Linked DNA regions of Homo sapiens: all the other regions are linked to region 1. Evidence: promoter capture Hi-C in 16 types of primary human blood cells and fetal thymus (Javierre and others, 2016). All regions are on one chromosome and are shown on one strand. Each heading gives the region's core, a stretch centred on a gene start or on the middle of the fragment in contact. The rest is flanking DNA. Distances are from core to core; before and after follow the strand shown.

Region 1 (3,086 bases), core at 417-2,916:
TGGTTTTCTTTGGTGGTCGTTCTGTTTCTCCTAGACACCTTGCTAGCGTTTCCCCCTACAGCATTTCTCTGGCGCATTCTTGCCCCTTTCACTGGGTACTTTCGAGATTTCTGGACCGGGCCCCACTGCCGTAAGAACCACAACAAACCATAAGAGGTGAGTGAGAGGAGATTGCCAGCCTACCAGCCTGGGGAACCTGAATCTGGGGATCACGACTCTGTGACTGTAGTTGCACAAAATGGAAGGTACCCATTTTGTGTAGAGTGTGCCCTGTACAAACATTTACCTAGAGCTGACTAAGTGCCTGATACTGTCCTGCCCTGGGATAGAGCGAAGGAAAAGAAACAATCCCTTTCCCTAACATCCCCAGGATCTCCTGGTGTGCAGGCACTGGCGCTCCCGGAATCGGTCCCGCGGTCCCACCCACCTCTGCCTGGTGATGAGGTTGATGTAGTGTCGCAGCGCCGAGTAGTATCTGGCCATGTCCTCCGCTGGTGCGTCCTCGCCCGGGTTGTCCGGCTTGGAGGGGTACGCCTCGGCCAGCGCACCCAGGCACACGAGCAGGGACAGGGCGAGGGTCAGTCCGGACAGCCCCAGTCGCTTGTTACCTAGCATCTGCAGGCACAGAAGGCTCAACGGACGGGCTTGGGGATTCAGAGCACCCACGCGCAGCACCTCCCTCCTCTGCCCCCCGCGCTCCTCCTCCTGCTACCACACGCGACCCCCAATCCGCTCTCGTCCCAGTCCCGCAGAGAGAACCCAGGAGTGGCTAGCACCACCTTGCGGGCTCCGGGCGCCGTCCGGTCGGGACCTGCCCCTCTGCTCCACCTGAAAACTTCGCGCAACTTCGTTCGAAGTCTCAGGGACCAAGAAGCGCGCGGCGAGAGTGCAAGGTGGGGGCCCCGCCAGTTTAGCATTCAAAACCGAATTGGAAGTTCTTCCTGCTGGGTCACTTTTCTCCCTTCTTGCCCAAACTCTTGTCTGGGAAGAAAAGTTTCTTCTCTGTTACTTCTGGTCTGCCTAGCTTCAGGGGATCAACGCTGACAGCAGAGATCACCTCGGGGTGACGACTGCGGTGGGGAAGGGGAAAGAGAATTGCTCCCTGGGCCAGAATTGCTCCAAAGAGATTTGGAGCCCAAGAATCCAGGGAGGTGGCAGGGCGCGGGGCTCTAGAGCTCCAGGGATTCCTCACTCGATGGCGCTGCCGGGGAAACCTTCCTACCGCGCACCGCTTCCTGGGCCTCAAGGCGGCGACCCGCAGGGAGACCGCCAGCTGCCTTGGGATAGCGGTCCCGGGTTCTCCCTCCATATCTGCTAAAAGGTAACTCAGAAGAACCGCCCAGCGGGAAGGGCCCGGGAGAAGGGCCGTGGACAATCAGAGGGGAGCAGAGGAACAAGTGGAATTTAGCCGCCAAGAGGGCTGGTCCGCGTCGGGGCGCGGAGCCGGCATAGTCCGCTGGGGAGTGGAGCGCGATCATCCCAGGGCCCCAGGGCTCCACAGAGCGGGAGGCTGCGTCTCTAGCAAGTTCGCGGGCGCCCCGTTCGCTCCCACCCCTAGACAGACGGGTCGTAGCACTCACGGTGGCTGGCGCGCGGGCGTGGCTGGGCGGCAAGTACTATGCTGTCGGGCGAGCGTCTCCGAGGGGTGAGAGCCAGCGGATGGGGTGCAGAGAGCGGGTCGCGACAGGGCTTTTATGGAGCTTCCTCGCCGCGGCAGGAGGGGCCTCGGGCAGTCACGCTTGGGTGACTCCCACCCGCCACTTCCCGCCCCTGAGTGGCGGGGGGAGGGGGCTGGAACCGCAGCCGCACGAGTGTCGACTTAGGGAGCCACCCACACCCCAACCCTCCCGCCCCAGGCACTGCCTGAAGAAGCGGGGCCTGGGACCGCGTGAGCGAGGCAGCGCACTCCGAGCGCGCTGGACAACACCAAAGCCCAAGTATCTGCCCTCGGGCAGTGCCCGATCCCTGCTTTCCTTCTTTCCTTCTTTCCTTCACGCCCCGTCTAGTCCTGCCAGAGATAGGAGCAGCCCAGACGATTCTTGTCTCCTGCCAACAGGACTACCAACCCACTGGGTGCCGGAGTAGGAAGCACCTGAATCCTCTTTGTGGTGGGGCATCTCCACGACTAGCGCGGCATCCTCGCCGGGCACAACTGCGCGCTGTTGGAGTGAGGCAACTGGGCGCACAGATTTTTCCTGTACTTAGAACAAGTCGGAGGCAGCTGCCGGAAGTCTCCGGCTAGAGGGTCCCAAAGCTGCGCTCCCCACCCCACCCCCGCCCGTGGTTTCAGGGGCTTCTGCCCCTTCTCTCAGCTGGTTTTTCTAGATCAGCCTTCCTCAAGTACTCGCTCAGACGCAGCGAGCCAGGCTCGGTCGAGACATGAGTGTGGCGACTCAAAATTCCCCAGAGGGGGAACACGGTAAACCTATTCCCCCAGTTTGCTGAAAAAGAGCCACGCTTCCAGCTTCTAGAGACTCTTTTAAGCTCAATTTTAAAAATATATATTTTTTCTTTTTTGGTCCAAAGTGACGGTGGTTAAATGAACAACAGTTTCTGTCTTATTTACTAACCCTTGTATAGTCCTATGTACGTTCAATTAACGTTGAGAATGTGGGTTCTGATTAAGATGAAACATGTTAAAAACGATGAACATTAATTTGCTCATCGCGTTAAACCTGTTGAATGAATATGCAAGATACAGAAACTATTATTACAGGATCAAGATTTTATGCAGTGGACTGAGATCTGAAAGTTCCGTGAATGAATGCTCCTGTATCTTTCTAAATAAAATGGCATTTTATTTCTAAATGAAATATAAGTCTGAATCTTTCTAAATAAAAAGGCATGTTGGGAAATTAAAGCATTAAGTTCCATGTTATTTTAATGCTAAAAGGACAAGTGATTCTGTTAAACTGACACTTAGTTTTTGTGCTGTTCCAACAGCATTGAATTAAATATCAAAAACCGTGAAGCAAACAATCCTTTGCATGTATGTGTTTGTGTGTTTGTGGGATCAAACTATAATTTTGGAGACCAACATCCCTTTCACTTGGCAACTGCTTCTCTTTCTGTATTACACAAACATA
Region 2 (3,086 bases), core at 248-2,747, 420 kb before region 1:
AGGGCAGGAGTAGTGGGCAGTTGAGGGCCAACTGAGCCCTGTATCCCAAGAGGTGGTGTGGCCTTCAGCATCAGTGACCCCTCAGTGACTCACAGAAAACATATGAGAAGAGAGGTGATGCCGCCGAGGCCCAGTCCACTCGGCAGGACTCACCTCGGTTGGATCTTAGGGAGCCCCAGGTTGTGGGTGCTGTATTTTAGGAAGGGTGGGGAGAATGACGCTCCATGGGGTAGGGGTCGGAGACTGAAGAGTGAGGCAGTCAGGGGCTTGGCATTTTTCTTTCATTGTAAGCACAGAAGCCCTGTTGACTACTAAGAATGGCTCATCAGCCGCGAGGATGGAGAACCCGTTCTGCATCTGTTTTGTTATATTCTGGGCTTCATTGTCAAGACAAGCAATGCTTTGTCAGCCTTGCAAAATGCTCTCTTGGAGGCTCTTTATCCACATGGCATGGACTGCATGGTGCCAAAGAGGAAGAGGGGCCATGCCCAGGATGTGCCTGCAGCAATTCCTTTTGCTCCTCACAGCGTATTGTGCTTTAGAAAGCTGGTTTCTTTTGTCGGGGATGTGGGGGCGCAGCATATAGGAGGAGATGGGCAAGGAAAAGGAGAAACAAATAGGTGAGAGCTTAGCACAAAGAGCTAGGAACCGCTCCGTGTGCGCGCTGGCTTGGAGGGTAAGCACAGAAGCCCTGGTGACTACATCTGTGGAGCTTCGATGAGTCCCAAACCAGGATGCTTTTGTAGCAAAAATGTCCGTATTTGAAGAAATGACAACAAAGGCCCAATTTTAATATAAGGCTTTCCTATCTTGGCTTCCTTGAGATGGATAAGTGGGTGCAATTTTCAGCTGCCACTTGAAGGATTTTGTCATTGTGGGTTAGAACCACAGCAAAATGGCCCTGCAGCCACTGGGTAGCAGAAGGCAGTCCCGTGCTGCAGCTTCCTTCTGTCCTGCCCACAGGCCCACCCTTCGAGTTGGCCATTCTGGTCAGCAGGGGTGCAGTGGGAGCTGGGTGTGCGACTGGACCGACCAGGACAGCTTCTCTCTTCAGGCTGGGACTGGTAAAGACAGTTGTGTGTATAGCAGAGTTTTGAAATATGTTGGTTACTGATGTTCTGTGTTCCTCTGCGTGGGGCTTTATACAACTGCTAGTTGGAATCGTCCATCCTCATGGGTGGTACATTGATGTATTAGTGTGCATCCCTGCATACGAAACCTTTATCAAATCTTTAAAAATAAAATCTCCACTAGACTTAATTTACAAGAAGCTTCTGAGTATCTTAAAAACAAACAAACAAACAAAAAAACCAAAAAACAAAGAAAGGAAAAGAGATTCTAAGGGGAGAGGCCCCTAAGCATCCTGCAGAGGCAATAGCTTCGGGGACTCAGTGCTCAGCTTGAGGACTCATGAAGAAGCAAAGGATAGAGAAAGAATAGCTGTGCTTGCCATGAAAATAGGGTGCCAGCCCCTTTAAAAATGGGCATTAAATATTAAAGGATAGAAAATCTGCAATGTACTACAAGAAAGGACGTGAAAAATAATGTATTTTGGAATTTGTATGGCTCTAAAGCATTGTAAAAGCACTGACTTGTTTAGTAATTCAGCTTTGATAATTTACTTCTAGAGAAGTCATGCTAAAGAAGAATTTAAATAACTTTTCCAGAAAATAATTGATTAGACTTAATGTTTAGTGAGTCATCAGAGAAGAGTGAAGCTTGAAATACAAAACTTGGCTTCCCTCTTTCTCTCTCTCTCCTCCCTCCCTTTGGTTATTGAAAAATATGCAGGGTGGCTTGTAACTTGATGTTTATTTCTGAGTTCCATGACTGACTATGCAGCTGGGAATATCCATGAAAGAACTGATGACGATTAGGTATAAAAAGCAGGAGTTGCTGTCCGACGTCGTGAGATGTGCATCGCAGTCATGAGACTTGGGTGTGCTTTGTTTTCACAGCGACCCTGCTCCTGGAGAGGAATTTCCATCCATTTGCGGAGCTGCCTGAGCCACAACAGACAGCTTTGAGTGACATCTTCCAGGCGGTCCTATTTGATGATGAACTACTCATGGTCCTGGAACCAGTGGTGAGCCCTGAGACATCTCAAGGCAGTGTTTTCACTGGGGTTTTCTGGAACAGGGGAGGAGGCAGGATGGAATTGTGTTAAAGGTTCCCCCGCCTCCTTTTCTCCCTACAGCTGTCTCTTTTCTGACTCTTGGGTCCTGCGTTTTCTAAGTGCAGACAGGTAGCTGGCATCGGGTGGAGGGAGGTGTTAATTTCCTAGGGCTGCCTCAACAAACCTGAGGGCTTAAAAAACCAGGAATTTATTCTCTCATAGTTTTGGAGCCCAAAAGTCCAAAGTCTAGGTGTCTGCAGGGCCACACTTCCCCCAGAGGATCTAGGAGAGAATTCTGCTGCCTTGTCTCCTTCCAGCTGCGGATGGCTCCTAGTGTTCCTGGCTCATGGCAGCAGCACTCCAGCCTCTGCTCTGTCTCCATGTGGGCTTCCCCTCTGTGTGTGTGTGTGTGTCTTCTCCTTTACTGTCTGTTATAAAGACACCATCATTGGATTTAGGGCCCACCCCAATCTAGGATGATCTCATTTTGATTTCCTTACTTTAATTACATCTGCAAAGACTAAGGTCACGTTCTTAGGTTCCAGGTAACATATGTTGGTGGGCCACTACTCAGACTACTGCAAGGGGGTCGTGTGGTGGAATCTATAAAGTCAGCCTGTTCCATTTAGAACAGAGAAATAAATAGGCTTTTGCACTGTTGTGTTTTGCAGCAGAAGGATATCCTGGGGAGGTCAAGTTCCTTAACTCTTAGTTGTACAAATGGTGAGAGCCACACAAGCTGCCAACCCTCCAGCCACCCAGATTCTGTGTCCTCCCTTTCTTAAGGCTGAGGCTTTATAAACCTGATTTTGACTACAGTTTTGTTTTTTGTTCTTTTGTTTTTCTATTATATTATGCAGGGAGTTTGAATAACTGATTTAGTGCTTTATGGTTTCCAGGGAAGTGTTCATATTATTTTTCTCTCTTGAAATTAGATTGTGCCGAAAGAGCCTGGGTATCAGTGATGGAA
Region 3 (3,086 bases), core at 364-2,863, 410 kb before region 1:
CAAGGGCAGGTATCATAATCTCAGCCTGAATCATATTAAAGATTCATTCAAAAGTTTAAATAAGAATTTCCAAAGGGGTTTCCATCCAGAACCCTGCCCTTTTTCCCTAAGAAAATTAAATTTATTATAATAATGACTACTTTCTGAGTTTCTCATATATTTTTCAGAAAGATTATCAGCTTCAAGGTGGAACCAGAGCGTTTTAAAACAATCTAAAAAAAGTTTCAGAATGTCAAAGAAATGGGAGTAATTAAAAATTTTAGAATGCTAGTTATAATTACATGAATGAATACATTCAGTTTTATATTCATACATTTTGGGAGAATTTTACATATTATACACATAGCTGTATATATATATATATATATATATATATATATATATATATACACACACACACACACATACATAATATATGGCAACTCGAACATTTAAAAAATGAACTGCTATCTATGTACATAAAACTTCAGGATTGCCTTTTTCATGTTTAGTTAAGGTTCATTACTACAAAATTATTGGCTCTCTAGCCTGTGATTTCTGGATAATGGAGTACTGTTTCAGAAGTTACAAAAGTAAAATTTAAGTAGATTATTATTTTGAGCAATTTTCAAAATTGTTATCTTTAGTTTGCCAATTCAAAATAATTTTACCTAACTCTATGGCTATCCACCTTGAAAATCAACTCCAGTCACTGGGATCATGACACTTGTTATACATAAAAATAAGTACCATTTAATAATTTTTAAACCAAGGATCATTTTTTATTGTCATTGGGATATTATGGTCAAAGCAGTTAGTATCTGGACATAATCTATAATGTCACATGGTTTTATTGCTAACTTGGGTTATTATCTAAATTTGCCTTAATAATCTATTTGTTGCTTTAAAGGAAACTTCTTAAGAACTACTATAAATTTATTGGATTCTAGAATCTAGGATTTAGGCTACTAATGCTGTAGGCATACTGGGTTTCTCTTATAATTTCTATTTCAGAAAGCTATGTTCAGCAATTGTATAGTTAGAGTTAGCCAAAATAAACAAAGTCCTGATGTATTTGACATGTGATATTACCAAATATCACACAGAAATGGAGACTGCATAATAAAGGCATGGCTGTAATGAAAGTGAAAATTCTACTTTTTAGGGCCATCACATTTATTTCACTAAGCTATGGTTAAATGACTTATCCAGGCACATCACCTCTATGGGTATTTGTACATTTGAAAATGAAAAAATATATATATAGTCTTAGGTTGTGTACAGTCATGCCCTGAGTGCTGAAATGTGGACACTGACCTATCCACAAGGAGCCCTCAGGCACATTAATACGTTGGCACATCATGTTTCCCAAAAGCACATGCATGTGTGTGTCTATTTCAACTCTTAACAATTGCTCAACACCACTCTAAACCATTTTCGCTTCCATAAAGCTAATTATCGCAGATCTTCCCAAAAGAGAAGTTCACATTTCCTTGATCACAGCTATACTCTCATTACCTAGGAAGAACCCTGGGACCTCTGGGGCTGTTTGCCCCCGCAGAGCACTGCTCATTCCTGCAGATTCATTTGGGACTTGGGTTTCAAGTTCAATGATTCTTCATTGAGATACAATGAACTTATCTAACTGTATTCTTGTTAGTACGGGCATCTAGACTGAAATGAACTAAACTGCATCATTTCATTTTATATTAGGAGAAATCTAATGTGCATTAATTAAGTAGTCAATCATGAATACCATTTATAATAGAAATAATTCCTTTAAGTATATTTTCTAAGTAATACATTTTATATCACATAAGGCTAATATACATGATGTAAAAGTCATCTATTGTACCAAGATGATTGAAATATTTTGCAGATAAACTTCTTGTGCTGCTATAATTATCCCAAAGCTGTTTAAAGAGGCTCCATGCTGCAGCATGAAAGTACATTAGAGAATACAGCACATTTCCTGAGTGAAGAACTGAAATTTCTCTTAAAATTTCAAGTGTGTGTTGAAACATTGTCATAGGGCATCACCTTGATACTGTGCTTTAATTCATGTTGCTTTGAGAAGCCAAGAATTTGGTGTAAACACATGTAGTTTGAAAGTTTCCACTGTTATTAAAATAGTATAATCCATTTTGTCACCAATTCCCTGTCCTAGGACAAGAAACGTGAATTTGTGTTCTGGCCATGAAATCTAGAATCAAAAAAAGAAAAAAAAAAAAAAAAAGAAAAACCTATAGATTTCCAACTTTAACAATATGACAACTTGGGTGTTTTGTTTTATTGTGAAAAAGATTTTAAACAATGTGTCAATACTGCCTATTGTCATATATTTTCTTTTCCTTCAAAGTCCTCCCAGCTGGCGTTCCAAATGACAACTTTGGTGAGGGAAAAAACAAATTCAGCAGCCAGGTGTCTGGCACCTAACACCAGACAAAGATGACCATCAATATTTAAACACCTAATCCTTTAAAGTGTGAATAATGTTTACATGAAAAGCTAGCAACAATACAGAATGTGGTTACCTTAATTTAATAATGAGCTGCATCTCTGAGTATGTTTTAGGAAGAATTTCTATTATCCAAGAATCCTAAAGGAAGATATTAACTGAGGTGAATGTGGGAATTTGTATAAGTCAATGCTTCTAAAGGAGAACTTCTTTCGGTAATCATTAAACAAAAAGTACACTTCTTGGCTAGGTGCAGTGGCTCATGCTTGTAATCTCAGCACTTTGGGAGGCCAAGGTGGGTGGATCACTTGAGGTCAGGAGCTCGAGACCACCCTGGCCAACATGGTGAAACCCCATCTGTACTAAAAATACAAAAATTAGCCGGACATGGTGGCACCCAACTGTAATCTCAATTACTTGGGAGGCTGAGGCACGAGAGTCGCATGAACCCAGGAGGCAGAGGTTGCAGCGGGCTGAGATCGCGCCACTGTACTCCAGCATGGGTGACAGAGAGAGACTCCATCTCAAAACAAACAAACAAAAAAACAAAGTACATTTTTTAACAGATATGTAAAAAATATACAAAACATTTTATATATATTATATAATACATAATATACATATTATATAATGTATATATTTTGTGTGT
Region 4 (3,086 bases), core at 165-2,664, 390 kb before region 1:
AATACAAATATACAGTAATCGAGACAATGTGGGACTGGCATAAGGACAGACATCTAGGTTAATGGAACAGAACTGAGGGTTTATAAATAAATCTTGACATTTACAATCAATTGATTTTCAAAAAGGGTGGCAAGACAATCCACTGGAGGAAAGAACTATTCTTTTTGACAAATTGTGTTGTGACAACTGGATAAGTGCAAGCAAAAGAATAAAGTTGGAACCCCCTCCTCACATTTGACACAAAAATGAACACAAAATTGATCATATAATCTGCATGTAAGAGTCAGTAGTATAAACTCTTAAAATAAAATACAGGAGTAAAATTTTGTGGCCTTGGGTTAGGGAAAGCCTTGATATGGTACCATACTTGATACGATATGAAAAGCATGAGCAACAAAAGACATATAAATTTGGACTTCATCAAAATGAAAAACTTTTGTATATCAAAGGACACCATCAAAAACACGAGAAGTCAACAAAGAATGAGAGAAAATATTAATACGTGCAAATCATATCTAACAAGGAACCTGTACCCAGAATATAATATGACCTCCTCTTACAGCTTAAGAAAAGGACAAATAACCTAACTGAAAAATGGGCAACCAGTTTGAACAGACATTCCTCCAAAGAAAATATATAAATGGCAAATATGTACATGAAAAGTTGTTTGACATGATCAGACATTAGGGAAATGCAAATGAGAACCAAAATGAGATACAACTTTACACCCACTAGGATGACTACAATCAAAAAGCCAGATGACAAATGTTGGTGAGGATGTAGAGAAACTGGAAACTTCATATGCTGCTGGGATTGTGAAGGGTATATACACAGCTGCTGTGGAAAACAGTGTGGAAGTTCTTCTAAAGGCTAAACATACAGTCATCATATAACCTACAAATTCCATTCCAAGGTATATACCCAAGAGAAACAGGCATATGTCCACACAAATACCTGTATACAAATGCTGAGTGTAGCATTATTCACAATAGCTAAAAATAAAACAGTCCAAATGTCCATCAACTGATGAATATATAAATAAAATGTGGTATAGCCATATAATAATCACTTAGCAAGGAAAAGAAAATAAGTACTGATAAATGCTACAATGCAGATGAGATCTGACATGTTAAGAAGCCAGTCACAAAACACCACATATTGTATAACTCCAGTATATAAAATGTCCAAAATAAGCAAATCTATTTTGACAGAAAGATTCATGATTGCTCCTGGCAGCAGGGGGTGAGGAAGTTGGTGGGAAATGGGTACAGAGATTCTTTTGGCGATGATGAAGACGTTGTAACAGCTTTTGAATTTTACAATCCAGAATTCTATTCTCTGCTAATTAGTCAAATAAAGGGCAGAAAATATACATTTTAAAACACAAAGATGCAGACATTACATTCCACATACAAGAGGATGTACCCCAGCAAAACAAGGTGATAAACCAAGAAAGAGAAAGAATGGGATCCAGGAACAACAGCTTCAACCCAGGATAACAACAAAGGGAACTACTCCAGTGTTAACAGCTGGGCAGCCAGAGAGACAGCATGTAGTCCTCATTGAAGCAGAAAGACAGAGGGTTCTGAGACAGAGGTCTCCAGGAAAAAAAAAAAGAACCTGACTTACTGGATAAACAAGTCTTTAGTTTAAAAAACAACAAAAAACTGTATACACATATATATATAAAATCAGGTAGTATAAAGAAAAACAGAACTCCAGAGATTCCTGGGTCACAGAAGGGGAAAGGGCTGTTCAAGAAAGTGAAATTGAACTAACTGAAAATACAGCTATCTTTATATTGGAAGGACAGTCAGGAAGTCAACAGATAAGGCCTAAACTGCATAAAGCAGGAAACAGCAGACTAAAGACATTATTAAGAAATATGGAACACAACCAAAAGAAATAGCAAAAACAATGAAAAGTGACTGTTTTTCATAAGTGAGGCAGGGGAAGAGAAGGGGTTATTTTTTTCCCCATTATATGTCTTTAAGAACTACTTGCTAAAAATATTGGGCACATATGAATTTGATAAAAGCGAAAAACTTTTTACTTCACAAGTGCAGCTTTAACATACGTTGATTACAGTGAAGTTTTTGTTCTGTTAACCACTTTAGTAGGATTTGTCTAAATTTAGTGATTTACAATGCCTGCAGTAGAATCAGAAGATTTACACTGAAGGGATTATAAGTAGCACAGGGGGGCAATGACAAGGCTATTTCCCTAACTTTTAAGAATTTTAGCAATAAGAGTACTCACTGAGAATTAAACCCAAAATATACTGGACAAAACCAGGGAAACTCTAAAATTCAATTAAAAGAGATAGGGTTAAAGTTAGCCTAGGATTTGACTCAAAATAGCTTAAAGGCATTAATATACCTAAAGGAATGCCATGTTAAAAGGGGGCTTGGTCAGAAATAGAAGCACAGCAATGGGAATGAAAGCAATGTTAGCTTATCTCCTGCTTTCTTCAAGGGAGAGAACATCTAAGTTCACAAGTAAAGATCCACGTATTTCAAAAACAAAGACAAATGTTTATTAGTCCCTACAGTCAGAGACAAATGTGTATTAGTCATTACAGTAAATCACTAACATCATCCAATTCCTTGATCTAATTCCATTCTCATCAAGCATACTTCTGACATGATTATTTAACTTTCTATGTAAATATGCAAATAGAGAAATGAATGCAAAGACCATAAAATGAGTGCTTGGTTCACTTAATGGTTATACTTCTCATCAGTACTATTTTATTCTATACATCAGACTCTGTAACCTTAATGAATGCTGCCTGCAGTAAAAGATGAATCACTCTTATGTGCTATCAAAAATCAGGTTTATGACCTTGCATGACTGAGAGCTACAAGCCAGGCCACGTAAGTTCACACAGCTGTTGCCACACTGGGTATGTCCAAGGGTCAGAAGCTTTCCCCTTTTCTTTACACTAAAATGGCTGAAAAATCCAACTTTTTAGATAGACATCAGTACAAGAAAATCCTAAATGCCTATCTTGCCACGAGTCTTAAATGTAGGCATTTAATTCTAACATTTCTGAACTGAATAGTTTAGAGAAGCACTTGCCACCA
Region 5 (3,086 bases), core at 215-2,714, 370 kb before region 1:
GCCACCAGCAATGTAGAAAAGATGCTGTTGATTCACAGCTATAATTTTTACCAACTTAATGGTATATCACATTATGATTTTCAATATATCTTTATATGTTTACTGAACACATGTCCCCTTTTACTTGATTTTTCTGTGTAGAGTGAAACACAATTTCAAACAGTATCCCTAGAATAACCAGGTTCCCCCCATTCATTGCATCATCTCCTTTCCACATTGAAAAACATTATCTCTGTCACATATCAAAGTAATATGTATGTGTAGGTCTCTTTCTGAGCTCTCTAAAAGTCCATTGATCATGCTGTCTCTTCCTATGCCAACATCACAATATCTTAATTCCTACATATTAATAATCAGACCCCATTCCTGCTTTTCTGATTCAAAAGTGTCTTGGCTATTCATCTTATCAAATTCCATGGAAAACCCTGTTTTGACTGGAATTCCATTAAATCTACAAGTTAATGAGTGAAAAATCAACATCTTCACAATATTGTCTTCCTGTCCATGACATGATATACCTGCTTATTTAGATCCTCTTCATAATTCCTTTGTGTAGAGGTCTTGAATTTTTTTGGTTAATTTATTCCTAGACATAAATGTGACATTCTCTGACTCTACTATAAATGATGTCATAGTTACATTTCTAGACGTTTGCTGATGACATACAGAAATGCAATTGAGTTTTGTGTCTTCATCTTATTTTCAGGTACCTTGGTAAACTCTATTATTTCTAATAAGTTGTAGTTTTGAGGGGTTTCTATGCAAAAACATGATCATATTTGTAAATAAGTTTTATTGCCTCCTTTCCAAACATTTTGCTTGTATAATTTATTTTTGTCATACTGTACTTATGGATCCTTCAAGAAAATATTAAATATAAGTGGTGCTAGTGAGCATCCTTCTCTAGTTTCTTTTTTTTTTTTTAACTAGGCAAAGGCTTTATCTTTGTTTTAAACTATTTTCTGGCTAATTAATTGCCAATAAATAACTGTATATAATCAATAATTAAAAAGCAGTGTCCAAGGGTCTTGGAATTTATAGACTTACATTTTATCATATATAAAACAAAAATTTTAAAAGCAGTTAAAATTCTTGAAATTGTATTATTTTTTAGAAGCTGAATCAATTCAGTTTGCCTCACTGTTGGAAGCTTCATCAAAATTCTGAACAAGATCACCACTTCCCCAATAGTAAGTGGTACTTTTCCATCCAGCTTCTGCCAGTTTCCTTAAGCTTGTTGACACCAAGCTGGTTTAAGACACTGGGTGGCATTTCTGTTAGCTGCTTTGTCTCAGCATGTCTGGTAATGGTCAAAGTGTTCGCTGCTAGAGATGTCTGAACACTGGGATTGTTAATGAAGATCACCATTCCTTGGTTTGCAGACATACCTCTTTAGTATCAGAGATATTGCCTATTTCTACTTTCTTTCAGGAAAACTGAAGATTTTTTTTATCATCTGTTTTAACAGATAATGTTTGCTGTATCATCTGAGGGCAGTTCCTTTTTACCAGTGCACAATTGTGCTTGAAATCTGGCAAGTTTTTCATGGTTTGTGAGGGCTTTTTCATTTTATAATGAAAACGAAAGTGGAATTTCGTGAGTGGAAATTAAACTTCGTGGGGTATTGGGGTTGGCACTAGAGGTCTCAGGCAGACCAGCTGCAAGGCCAGTTTCTGACTTTAAAGGGAAAGCTTCTAACATTAGTTAATTCAGAATAATGTTTGTTCTATTTTTTTTTTTTGTAATAAAATTAAGGCTTTTCCCTTCTGTTCCTAATTTACTAATCATTTTTTAAAAATCATTGAATTTTATCAAATTCTCCATTGAGGTTATTCTCTTTTCATCTGGTAATGTGCTTAGTTACATACATATGGATTTTCTAATATGAAACTCTCCTAGCATACCTGGGATAATAAATCTAACTTGGATATGTTGTATCATCTTTGTTATATACACAATCAAATCTGATTTGCTAATATTTTGTTGAGAATTTTTAATGTATATCCTTGAATGAAACAGTCCTGTAATATATTTTCTTATATTGTTTCTAGTTGTCCAGGTCATGTTGGTTCCAAAGAATAAGAGAGAATTCCTATCAGTTGGCCTTAATAAACAAATGGAATTACGAATAGCCCCCGGAAATCTAAGCTATAAGAAAGTTGAAGAACTTCAGAATTGGCTACTTCTAACTCACTCTGGCCCTCAAAATTTAAAACATAGATACTTATGTCCCATAGCAGATTCTGGACTTTTACCAAGCACCTGAAACGATTCTGATAAAGATCATCTACTGACTATGCTTTTGAAAAACATTACCGTGGTAGGGAAGAGTTCTTGGCTTTCATTTGCTCTTGCAGCAATCCAGAGCTGAGACTAGCTCCACAGCACTACATGGTGGAGATTTTAGTGAAAGAGTTGAAGACGCAAAATGCCCTTGCTTCCCTATAGCATCTCAGTAGGATGCCCATGGTTTGCAGATGCCCTGGTTTATGCCTATTATTCCAGCATATGAGTAATGTTCCCCTTTTCATTTAAAAAAAAAAAAGTCTCAATTTGGATGTTCTTTTGGAAGCCTTCATGTTATAGTTTCTTTACTTCTTTATGGGAGGACACGCCTCAGGCTACCTCGGACTTATAAGACTCCTCCTCTCCTACTTGAATTCATTTCCCCAGCTCTAAATGCTAAGTGAAAAGCAGAGTTTGAGAGGGTATGGAATGTGGAAAACTTATGTTTAAACAAGGCTAAATGTCCTTGCATTTCATGGTATTCAGTTAGTTCACCAGATGCAAAATCTATGTAGGAATTTGGGCCAAAGCCCTAGTTATTAATATTATAAAATTTTATTTTGCCTGTAAAAGTCTCTTATAGCCATGGTGAGCTAGAAGAATTCTGGAGTTTAGACCACAGAAGGAAAATAAGATCTTCCTACTACAACTAACACATAATAATAAATAAAATACGTAAATCCTAGATTTTACTCTTCCAGCGTACGCAGGTCCAAGATAAGGCCTCAGGCTGTCACAAATTGAAAGTTGCCAACTGAGGAATAAAGGTAGCCTGAGAGGTACTAGTGATATGAAATGTC
Region 6 (3,086 bases), core at 241-2,740, 320 kb before region 1:
ACAGGTATACATAAATTAATTTTGTAAAAAATTTCAGGTATTACTGGATAGAGACAAGAGCCTTTTTAACTTGGCCAGCTTTCCATCTCTGCTCTTTCCCTAGGGGTAATGCATGTTATACTTTGTTTTTATGTGTTTATAGACCTATTCTTTATGTCTTTATAGACCTATTCTTTATGTCTTTATAGACCTATTCTTACATATTTACATATTTGTATCTGTAGAAAATATGAAGATATATGCTTCATTTCTATACTTATATAAATATCTAAAACATAATGTGTTACTGTATTTATATAAGTAATATCTTACTATATCAGTGATATATGAAACTTATTTTCCCACAGAAAAATGTATTTTGGAGAACATTTCACATTAGTACATATGAAACCATGTTATTCTTTTAGTTGTTGCAGATTCATAGGATGAGTGTAGTTTATTTAGCGTCTGAGGAACATGGCAGTTGTTTCTATTTTTCCCATGTCTTCAAGAAATGCTGCAGTGAACATCCTAATGAATTTCATCATTAGAAACAATATTGCCCATATCACAATGATTTCTTTCACTTGATAACAAAGTTGTGACTATGAAAGTTTAGTAATAGTAAAATGTTGAAAATCTTTTATTACAAACATTACTCAATTTCTGATAATATTGGCATGAAGAGATTGGCAGTTCCCCTCTGCAAAAAAGCAAATATAAAACTGGACAGCATCATCAAAGGCAGTCTTTTAAGGGTGCTGAAAATTGCCCAAAGGCCGTTATAAAAATGAGGCACATTTATTCTGGCAAAACTGCTAGAGCTTGAGGTAAGAACAGTGTGACTCTGTGGCCTTCTTGCCTGGGGCTGTCCCCATGTACCTCCCCAGGGCCCCAGCTCAGTTGGTGATAACCGAAGCTTGATCAGTGCTATGGCCTAGGCGTTTGTGTCCCTCCCAGATTCATATGCTAAAACCCTAATTCCCAGTGGGATGGTATTTGGAGGTGGAGTCTTTGGGGAGGTGATTAGGGTTAGACTAGGTCATGAGGGTGGAGCCCCCATCTTGGCAGGAATGCCCTTATCAGAAGCTGAAAGGACCAGAGCTCACTGTCTCTGCCAAGTTAGGGTATAGTGTGCTTATTTCATCTTACTGAAATTCTTTTTAAGTTTTATTTTCTACCAGAATTTAGTAAAACTTTGAGATGGTTTGGGGCCACTATTACTTCAAATATTTTTTTCTGTCTCTCTCTTTCCTTTCTGTCTGAAACTCCCATTACATGTGTGTTGGAATGTTTGACATTGTCCCACATGTCTCCAAGGCTTTGTTCCCTATTCTTACAAATCTCTTTTCTTTCTCTTGTTGGAATACTTTTTATTGATCTTCACATTTTCTCTGCCATCTTAAATCTGTTGAGCCTATCCAATGAAATTTTCATTTCAAATACTGTGCTTTTCAAATCTAAAATCTCTACTTGGTTCTTTTTGAGTTTGCTTCTTTACTGAGGTTCTCTATTTATTGTGTCCTGTTAGCATCTTGTTCACATATTTTTCTTTTTTCCTTTTTTTTTTTTTTTTTTCTTTTCTTGAAAGAAACAGGGTCTTTACTGCCCAGGCTAGACTGATGTGGGTATTCACAGGTGTGATCATAGTCTTGAACTACCGGGCTCAAGTAATCCTCCCACCTCAGCCTCCTGTGTAGCTGGGACTACAGGCACATGTCACAATGCCCAGACTGTATTTTCCTTTAATTCTTTCAATATATTCTAAATAGCCAATTTGAAGTCTTCATTAAATCCAACACTGAGCCCAGTCAGAGTCCGTTTTATTGACTATTTTTCCCGATGATGACTCACATTTTCCTGGTATTTCTTTTCTTTGCCATGTCTAGCAGTTTGGGGTTGAATATGGAACCCTTAACAGTAACTCTAGATTTATTATTTTTTTTTCAGAGTTTGAGTTTTTAAATAATTGGTCTAGACTTAAACTGCAGAATCTGTTTCCCTCCAAGGTATGCTGTCAGGACATCCGTTTAATATTTTAATTCTTATTTTTACATTTTAGTCTGACTCTCTTGGGGTTGTACCTATGTCTGTAAAGCTTAATGATGGACCAATATTGTGCTCCAACAGCCATTTGAGCCAATGTTGTGGACAAATCAGCAACGGCTGTGTTCAAAAACCTCAAGCTTTTAAGACTTCACTCTCAGTGAGTTGAGCTGTGATGGACTGGGAAATGCATTCAAAGTTGCAGCCAGTTGTCAAGTCCCCATCAGCTTTCACTTTTTTCCAGGCTCTCCTGGGTCTCTATGTGGAGAGCTCATCTTAACCCTTCCATGGCTCTCTCATTTCTAGGATTTCCCTATTAAATTTCTGCTGGTCCACAATGTCAAATTAGCACAGCAGCAGGTTTTCTCTATTTGTTTCCAACCAAATCCACCACTTTTCACCAGCAAAGTCACAGGTTTAGTTTGTGTGTCTTCTCTTTCTTCCCTAGCCTGAATCAAGTCACTCCACAACTTTTGGGCAGCAAAGCTGCTGGTTTTCTCAGCTAGTCCTAAGCTCACTGTCTCAGTTAATTCAGGCTGCTATGACAAAAATATAGCCTGGGTAGCTTAAATGACAGAAATTTATTTCTCACAGGTCTGAAGGCTGGGAAGTCCAAGATCAAGGTGCTGGCTCACTTCCTGGTTTACAGAGGGATGCCTTCTTACTGTATTAGTCTGTTCCCATGCTGGTATGACCCAAGACTGGGTAATTTATGAAGAAAAGAGGTTTAATTGACTCACAGTTCCACATGGCTCCCCAGCCTCAGGAAACTTACAATCATGGTGGAAGGCACCTCTTCACAGGGCAGCAGGAAAGAGAATGAGTGGCAGCAGGGAAAATACCAGATGCTTATATAACCATCAGATCTTGTGAGAACTCATTTACTATCAAGAGAACAGGAAACCACCCTCATGATTCAATTACCTCCCACCAGGTCCCTCCCATGACATGTGGGAATTATGGGATTACAATTCAAGATGAGATTTGGGTGGGGACAGAAAGCCAAACCATATCACCCACCTTCCTCCACTACACAGAACTGAAAACTAGGGGCTTATTTT
Region 7 (3,086 bases), core at 291-2,790, 280 kb before region 1:
TGCATCTTATGGCTCCTTTCCTATTCTGCTTCATAAAAGCATCATTTATGTTTTCAAATATTTATCTTTGCATTCTTTTTACCGCCACTCAGCCCCATCCCCTTCTTTCTTGCAGGTAAAATCCAGGGTGATGTGTACAGGAATGCCTGTAGCACTTGGCATAGTACTGCACATAGTAGCTGCTCATTTATTGAAACAGATAAACCTGTTAGTTGGTAGACTTCTAAAATTAAATAAAATTAAGTGAAAAATGTTGCTAATTACAATTGAACACTTGTTCCAGAATATGCAAGTTACAGATGAAAAGCTCTTAGAAAGACAATCAGATTTCAAGCAGTGACCTTAATTGAGCTTGACTTTATCTCACCAGGAGCCAGCATCTATATGTAATTAACCCTTTTAGATACTCATTTAAAATCGGCCTCTAAATTCTACCTCTCCCATTATATATATGAACTGAAAAAAAAATCCTTCTACTCAAGTATCAAAAAGAAGATTAAAAAGACATAGGAAAACAGGAAAAACCTTTCTTAAAAATTTGTAAAAATATATAGTGTCAGTATAGTGTGTACCTTTCCCCATTGAAAACACAGACAGGCACGAAGTCCTGGAGGGCAGTGGAGGTCTTCTGGAAGAATCTTCTGGCATGACAGGCAAAAAGGGTGTCAATGGTGATTAAACATAAAAACAAAGGGTCAAACTGTGAGGCCGATGCTCCTCCAAAGGACTGAGGAGAAGTCGTGAGGGTAAGAGCAAGTCATTAAGATGCATAGTAGGCTCTTAAGACATTTTTGGTAAATAAATGAATGAAAGATGGATAGGATAAGGGACGTGGAAGCAATGATGGAAGTCGGGGTGTATGTGTATGAGTCGGGGCAGCCATGGCAAGCTGTTTTGGCTGTTAACAATCTGGGAAGTTAATGGCCCATTTTAAAGCAATGCCATCTTCATGCTAGGAAGTACAGGGCATTTAGTTTTTCCTTAAAATATCAGCTGTTTATAAATATGAAAGACCAAGTCTTTTTAAAAAATCCTGCTTTGGTAATAATAGCGAATGACAACTATCTATTGAGCTCATGCCTGTGTGGCAGACACTGGTGTATAACCTTCATATGGAGCATCCCATGGGGATCATTACTATTACTCCCATTTTTCAGATGAGAAAACAAGTGAAGAGGAGTTAATGGCTCAGGCTTCAGAACCAGGAAGTGTTTAAAGAAGCTCTGCTGCAAAACTCCTGCTCATTCCCACACTTCATACACAGAGTGCTTTGTAACTTTCAGGTCAATTCAACTGGAATGAATTATAGTACGAGTTACTACAATTAGAGGTTCTCTGTAGCATGTTATTTAACTCAGATTCACCACCACGATCTACAGACTTACTGTATGTGTGTATTTTAACAATGTAGCATTTGTGGAAAGGCTATCTATTTTGCATTAGATTCTGGTGGGACTACTAATCACCATATCCTCCCCATATTCTTAAATTACAAGAGTGGCCATGTGACCCAGGCCTGGCCAATAAGAGTGCCCCATCCCTTCAGCCATAGGGATTAGTGCAAGAAGTAGACATGTTACCTAAATAAAGAAAATTTTGGATTTTTCTGTACTGCAGTAGGAAGAAAGATAATTTGTTTTTTTTTTCTCTTTTCAAATCAACACTTTGAGAATCTCAAAAAAGGGAAGATTTAGTCATGCCTGAGGCCAGCCTTAATTCTAGACTTTTCTGGTTACATAAATTCATGAGACCTTTTTAAATTTAAGATAATTTGAGTTGAGTTTCCATCACTTGTCACCAATAGAGTTCTGACTTATAGATGATTTATTTGGGGCAGAAGCTATACCTTTATGAAATGCTAAGTCACAGTCTAATCAATACAAGTTGACGATCCATTATCTGAAATGCTTGGGACCAAAAGTGTTTCAGATTTCAGATTTTTTGGGATTTGGGAATATTTGCAAATACGTAATGAGATATCTTGGGGATGGGACCCAAGTCTGAACATGAAATTTATTTATGTTTCACATACACCTTATACACATAGTCTGAGGTAATTTTATATGATATTTAAAATAATTTTATGCATAAAATAACATTTGTGTTAAGTACTTATATGTGGAATTTTTCACTTGTAGCATCATGTTGGCATTGAGGAAGTTTCAGATTTTCAGATTAGGGATGCTCAACCTGTATATTATTAAATGATATAGTTAGGTAAATAATTATGAAGACACTGACATATTGTAGGTACTTAATATTTATTTGATTAATTCTATTTTTAAATTAAGAGTAATAATTATAATTTCTGTCATTCAAAGTCAGTATTATAATTCTCACAAGTTGAATACCTAAGATATATTAAGTATATCATTGCAACCCTATACCAATTGACCAATGAGACAGATCCATTTGTATGTATCAGAATTAAATCATAATAGTATTTATATAGTGCAAGTAATACGGTACAAAAGAAGAGTTTAGAATCAGATAACTCTAAGTTCTACTAGATTTACCACGTATGAGCTGAGTAACCTTAGGAATGTTTTTCAGTATATAAGAATCTTTCTTTTCTCAAATGCAAAATGAGTATAATAGGCCTACCTTGCAGGGTGTTTTAAGAATTATTAATTAAACCTATCAAATGCCTGATATAGTTGCTTTTTCAGAGAAGAGTGTAATTACTATTATTATTTTCACAAAAGTGTAGTTGTAGGACAGCAAATAGTCATTTGCTAATTTACTTTGGTGCATAATTATAAGCTAAGAATGCTCTTAATTAAATTATCTTTCCTCCCAAAAAGGACAAAGTTTCCATTTTATCTACTATTGCTAAGCCTTGATCTGGAAGGTCTAGCCAGTACAATAAGATAAGAAAGAAAAGAGATAAGTAAGAGATATGGTATTAATATTGGAAGGGAGAGATAAAGTTATCATTATTTACTGATGATGAAATTGTCTCTCTAGAAGACCCAAGATAATCAACTAAAATAAATAATAAATAATAAAAAGAAAGATTTGGTAGATCTAATCAAAATTTATAAAATGCAGTTGGTTTTTTTGTATATATGATAGCTAGATAGAAA

What was found. Contacts are between HindIII fragments. The CHiCAGO score rates a contact against its expected background, and 5 or more counts as called.
Region 2: a contact is called between a fragment that was not itself captured here and the fragment with the promoter of NPY in region 1, in 1 of 17 cell types (megakaryocytes). The highest score is 5.4, in megakaryocytes.
Region 3: a fragment that was not itself captured here is called in contact with the fragment with the promoter of NPY in region 1 in 1 of 17 cell types (naive B cells); the score reaches 5.3 in naive B cells.
Region 4: a fragment that was not itself captured here is called in contact with the fragment with the promoter of NPY in region 1 in 12 of 17 cell types (M0 macrophages, megakaryocytes, M2 macrophages and 9 more); the score reaches 12.6 in M0 macrophages.
Region 5: a fragment that was not itself captured here is called in contact with the fragment with the promoter of NPY in region 1 in 7 of 17 cell types (M0 macrophages, M1 macrophages, M2 macrophages and 4 more); the score reaches 9.1 in M0 macrophages.
Region 6: a fragment that was not itself captured here is called in contact with the fragment with the promoter of NPY in region 1 in 2 of 17 cell types (erythroblasts and naive CD4 T cells); the score reaches 5.8 in erythroblasts.
Region 7: a contact is called between a fragment that was not itself captured here and the fragment with the promoter of NPY in region 1, in 1 of 17 cell types (megakaryocytes). The highest score is 5.0, in megakaryocytes.

Annotation. Positions count from the first base shown.
Region 1 is chr7:24,282,770-24,285,855 of GRCh38, reverse strand. It overlaps NPY (neuropeptide Y), which reads right to left and starts at 1,666. Exons shown (of 4, transcript NM_000905.4): 1 at 1,581-1,666; 2 at 428-615. The coding sequence starts at 615. The region is part of intron 2 of LOC107986777 (a long non-coding RNA gene); the gene reads left to right. The HindIII fragment of the contact is 8,579 bases long and covers 1-3,086 here.
Region 2 is chr7:24,707,127-24,710,212 of GRCh38, reverse strand. It overlaps GSDME (gasdermin E), which reads left to right. Exons shown (of 10, transcript NM_001127453.2): 7 at 1,959-2,086. Among named protein-coding and RNA genes, the nearest start is that of GSDME, 49 kb to the left of the region's middle. The HindIII fragment of the contact is 447 bases long and covers 1,274-1,720 here.
Region 3 is chr7:24,688,709-24,691,794 of GRCh38, reverse strand. It overlaps PALS2 (protein associated with LIN7 2, MAGUK p55 family member), which reads right to left. Exons shown (of 12, transcript NM_001303037.2): 12 at 1-3,086. Among named protein-coding and RNA genes, the nearest start is that of GSDME, 67 kb to the left of the region's middle. The HindIII fragment of the contact is 6,755 bases long and covers 1-3,086 here.
Region 4 is chr7:24,668,867-24,671,952 of GRCh38, reverse strand. The region is part of intron 9 of PALS2 (protein associated with LIN7 2, MAGUK p55 family member); the gene reads right to left. Among named protein-coding and RNA genes, the nearest start is that of GSDME, 87 kb to the left of the region's middle. The HindIII fragment of the contact is 3,027 bases long and covers 1-2,927 here.
Region 5 is chr7:24,652,049-24,655,134 of GRCh38, reverse strand. All of the region lies in intron 5 of PALS2 (protein associated with LIN7 2, MAGUK p55 family member), which reads right to left. Among named protein-coding and RNA genes, the nearest start is that of PALS2, 80 kb to the right of the region's middle. The HindIII fragment of the contact is 458 bases long and covers 1,236-1,693 here.
Region 6 is chr7:24,602,691-24,605,776 of GRCh38, reverse strand. The region is part of intron 1 of PALS2 (protein associated with LIN7 2, MAGUK p55 family member); the gene reads right to left. Among named protein-coding and RNA genes, the nearest start is that of PALS2, 31 kb to the right of the region's middle. The HindIII fragment of the contact is 1,179 bases long and covers 901-2,079 here.
Region 7 is chr7:24,564,889-24,567,974 of GRCh38, reverse strand. No RefSeq gene overlaps it. Among named protein-coding and RNA genes, the nearest start is that of PALS2, 7.0 kb to the left of the region's middle. The HindIII fragment of the contact is 4,178 bases long and covers 1-3,086 here.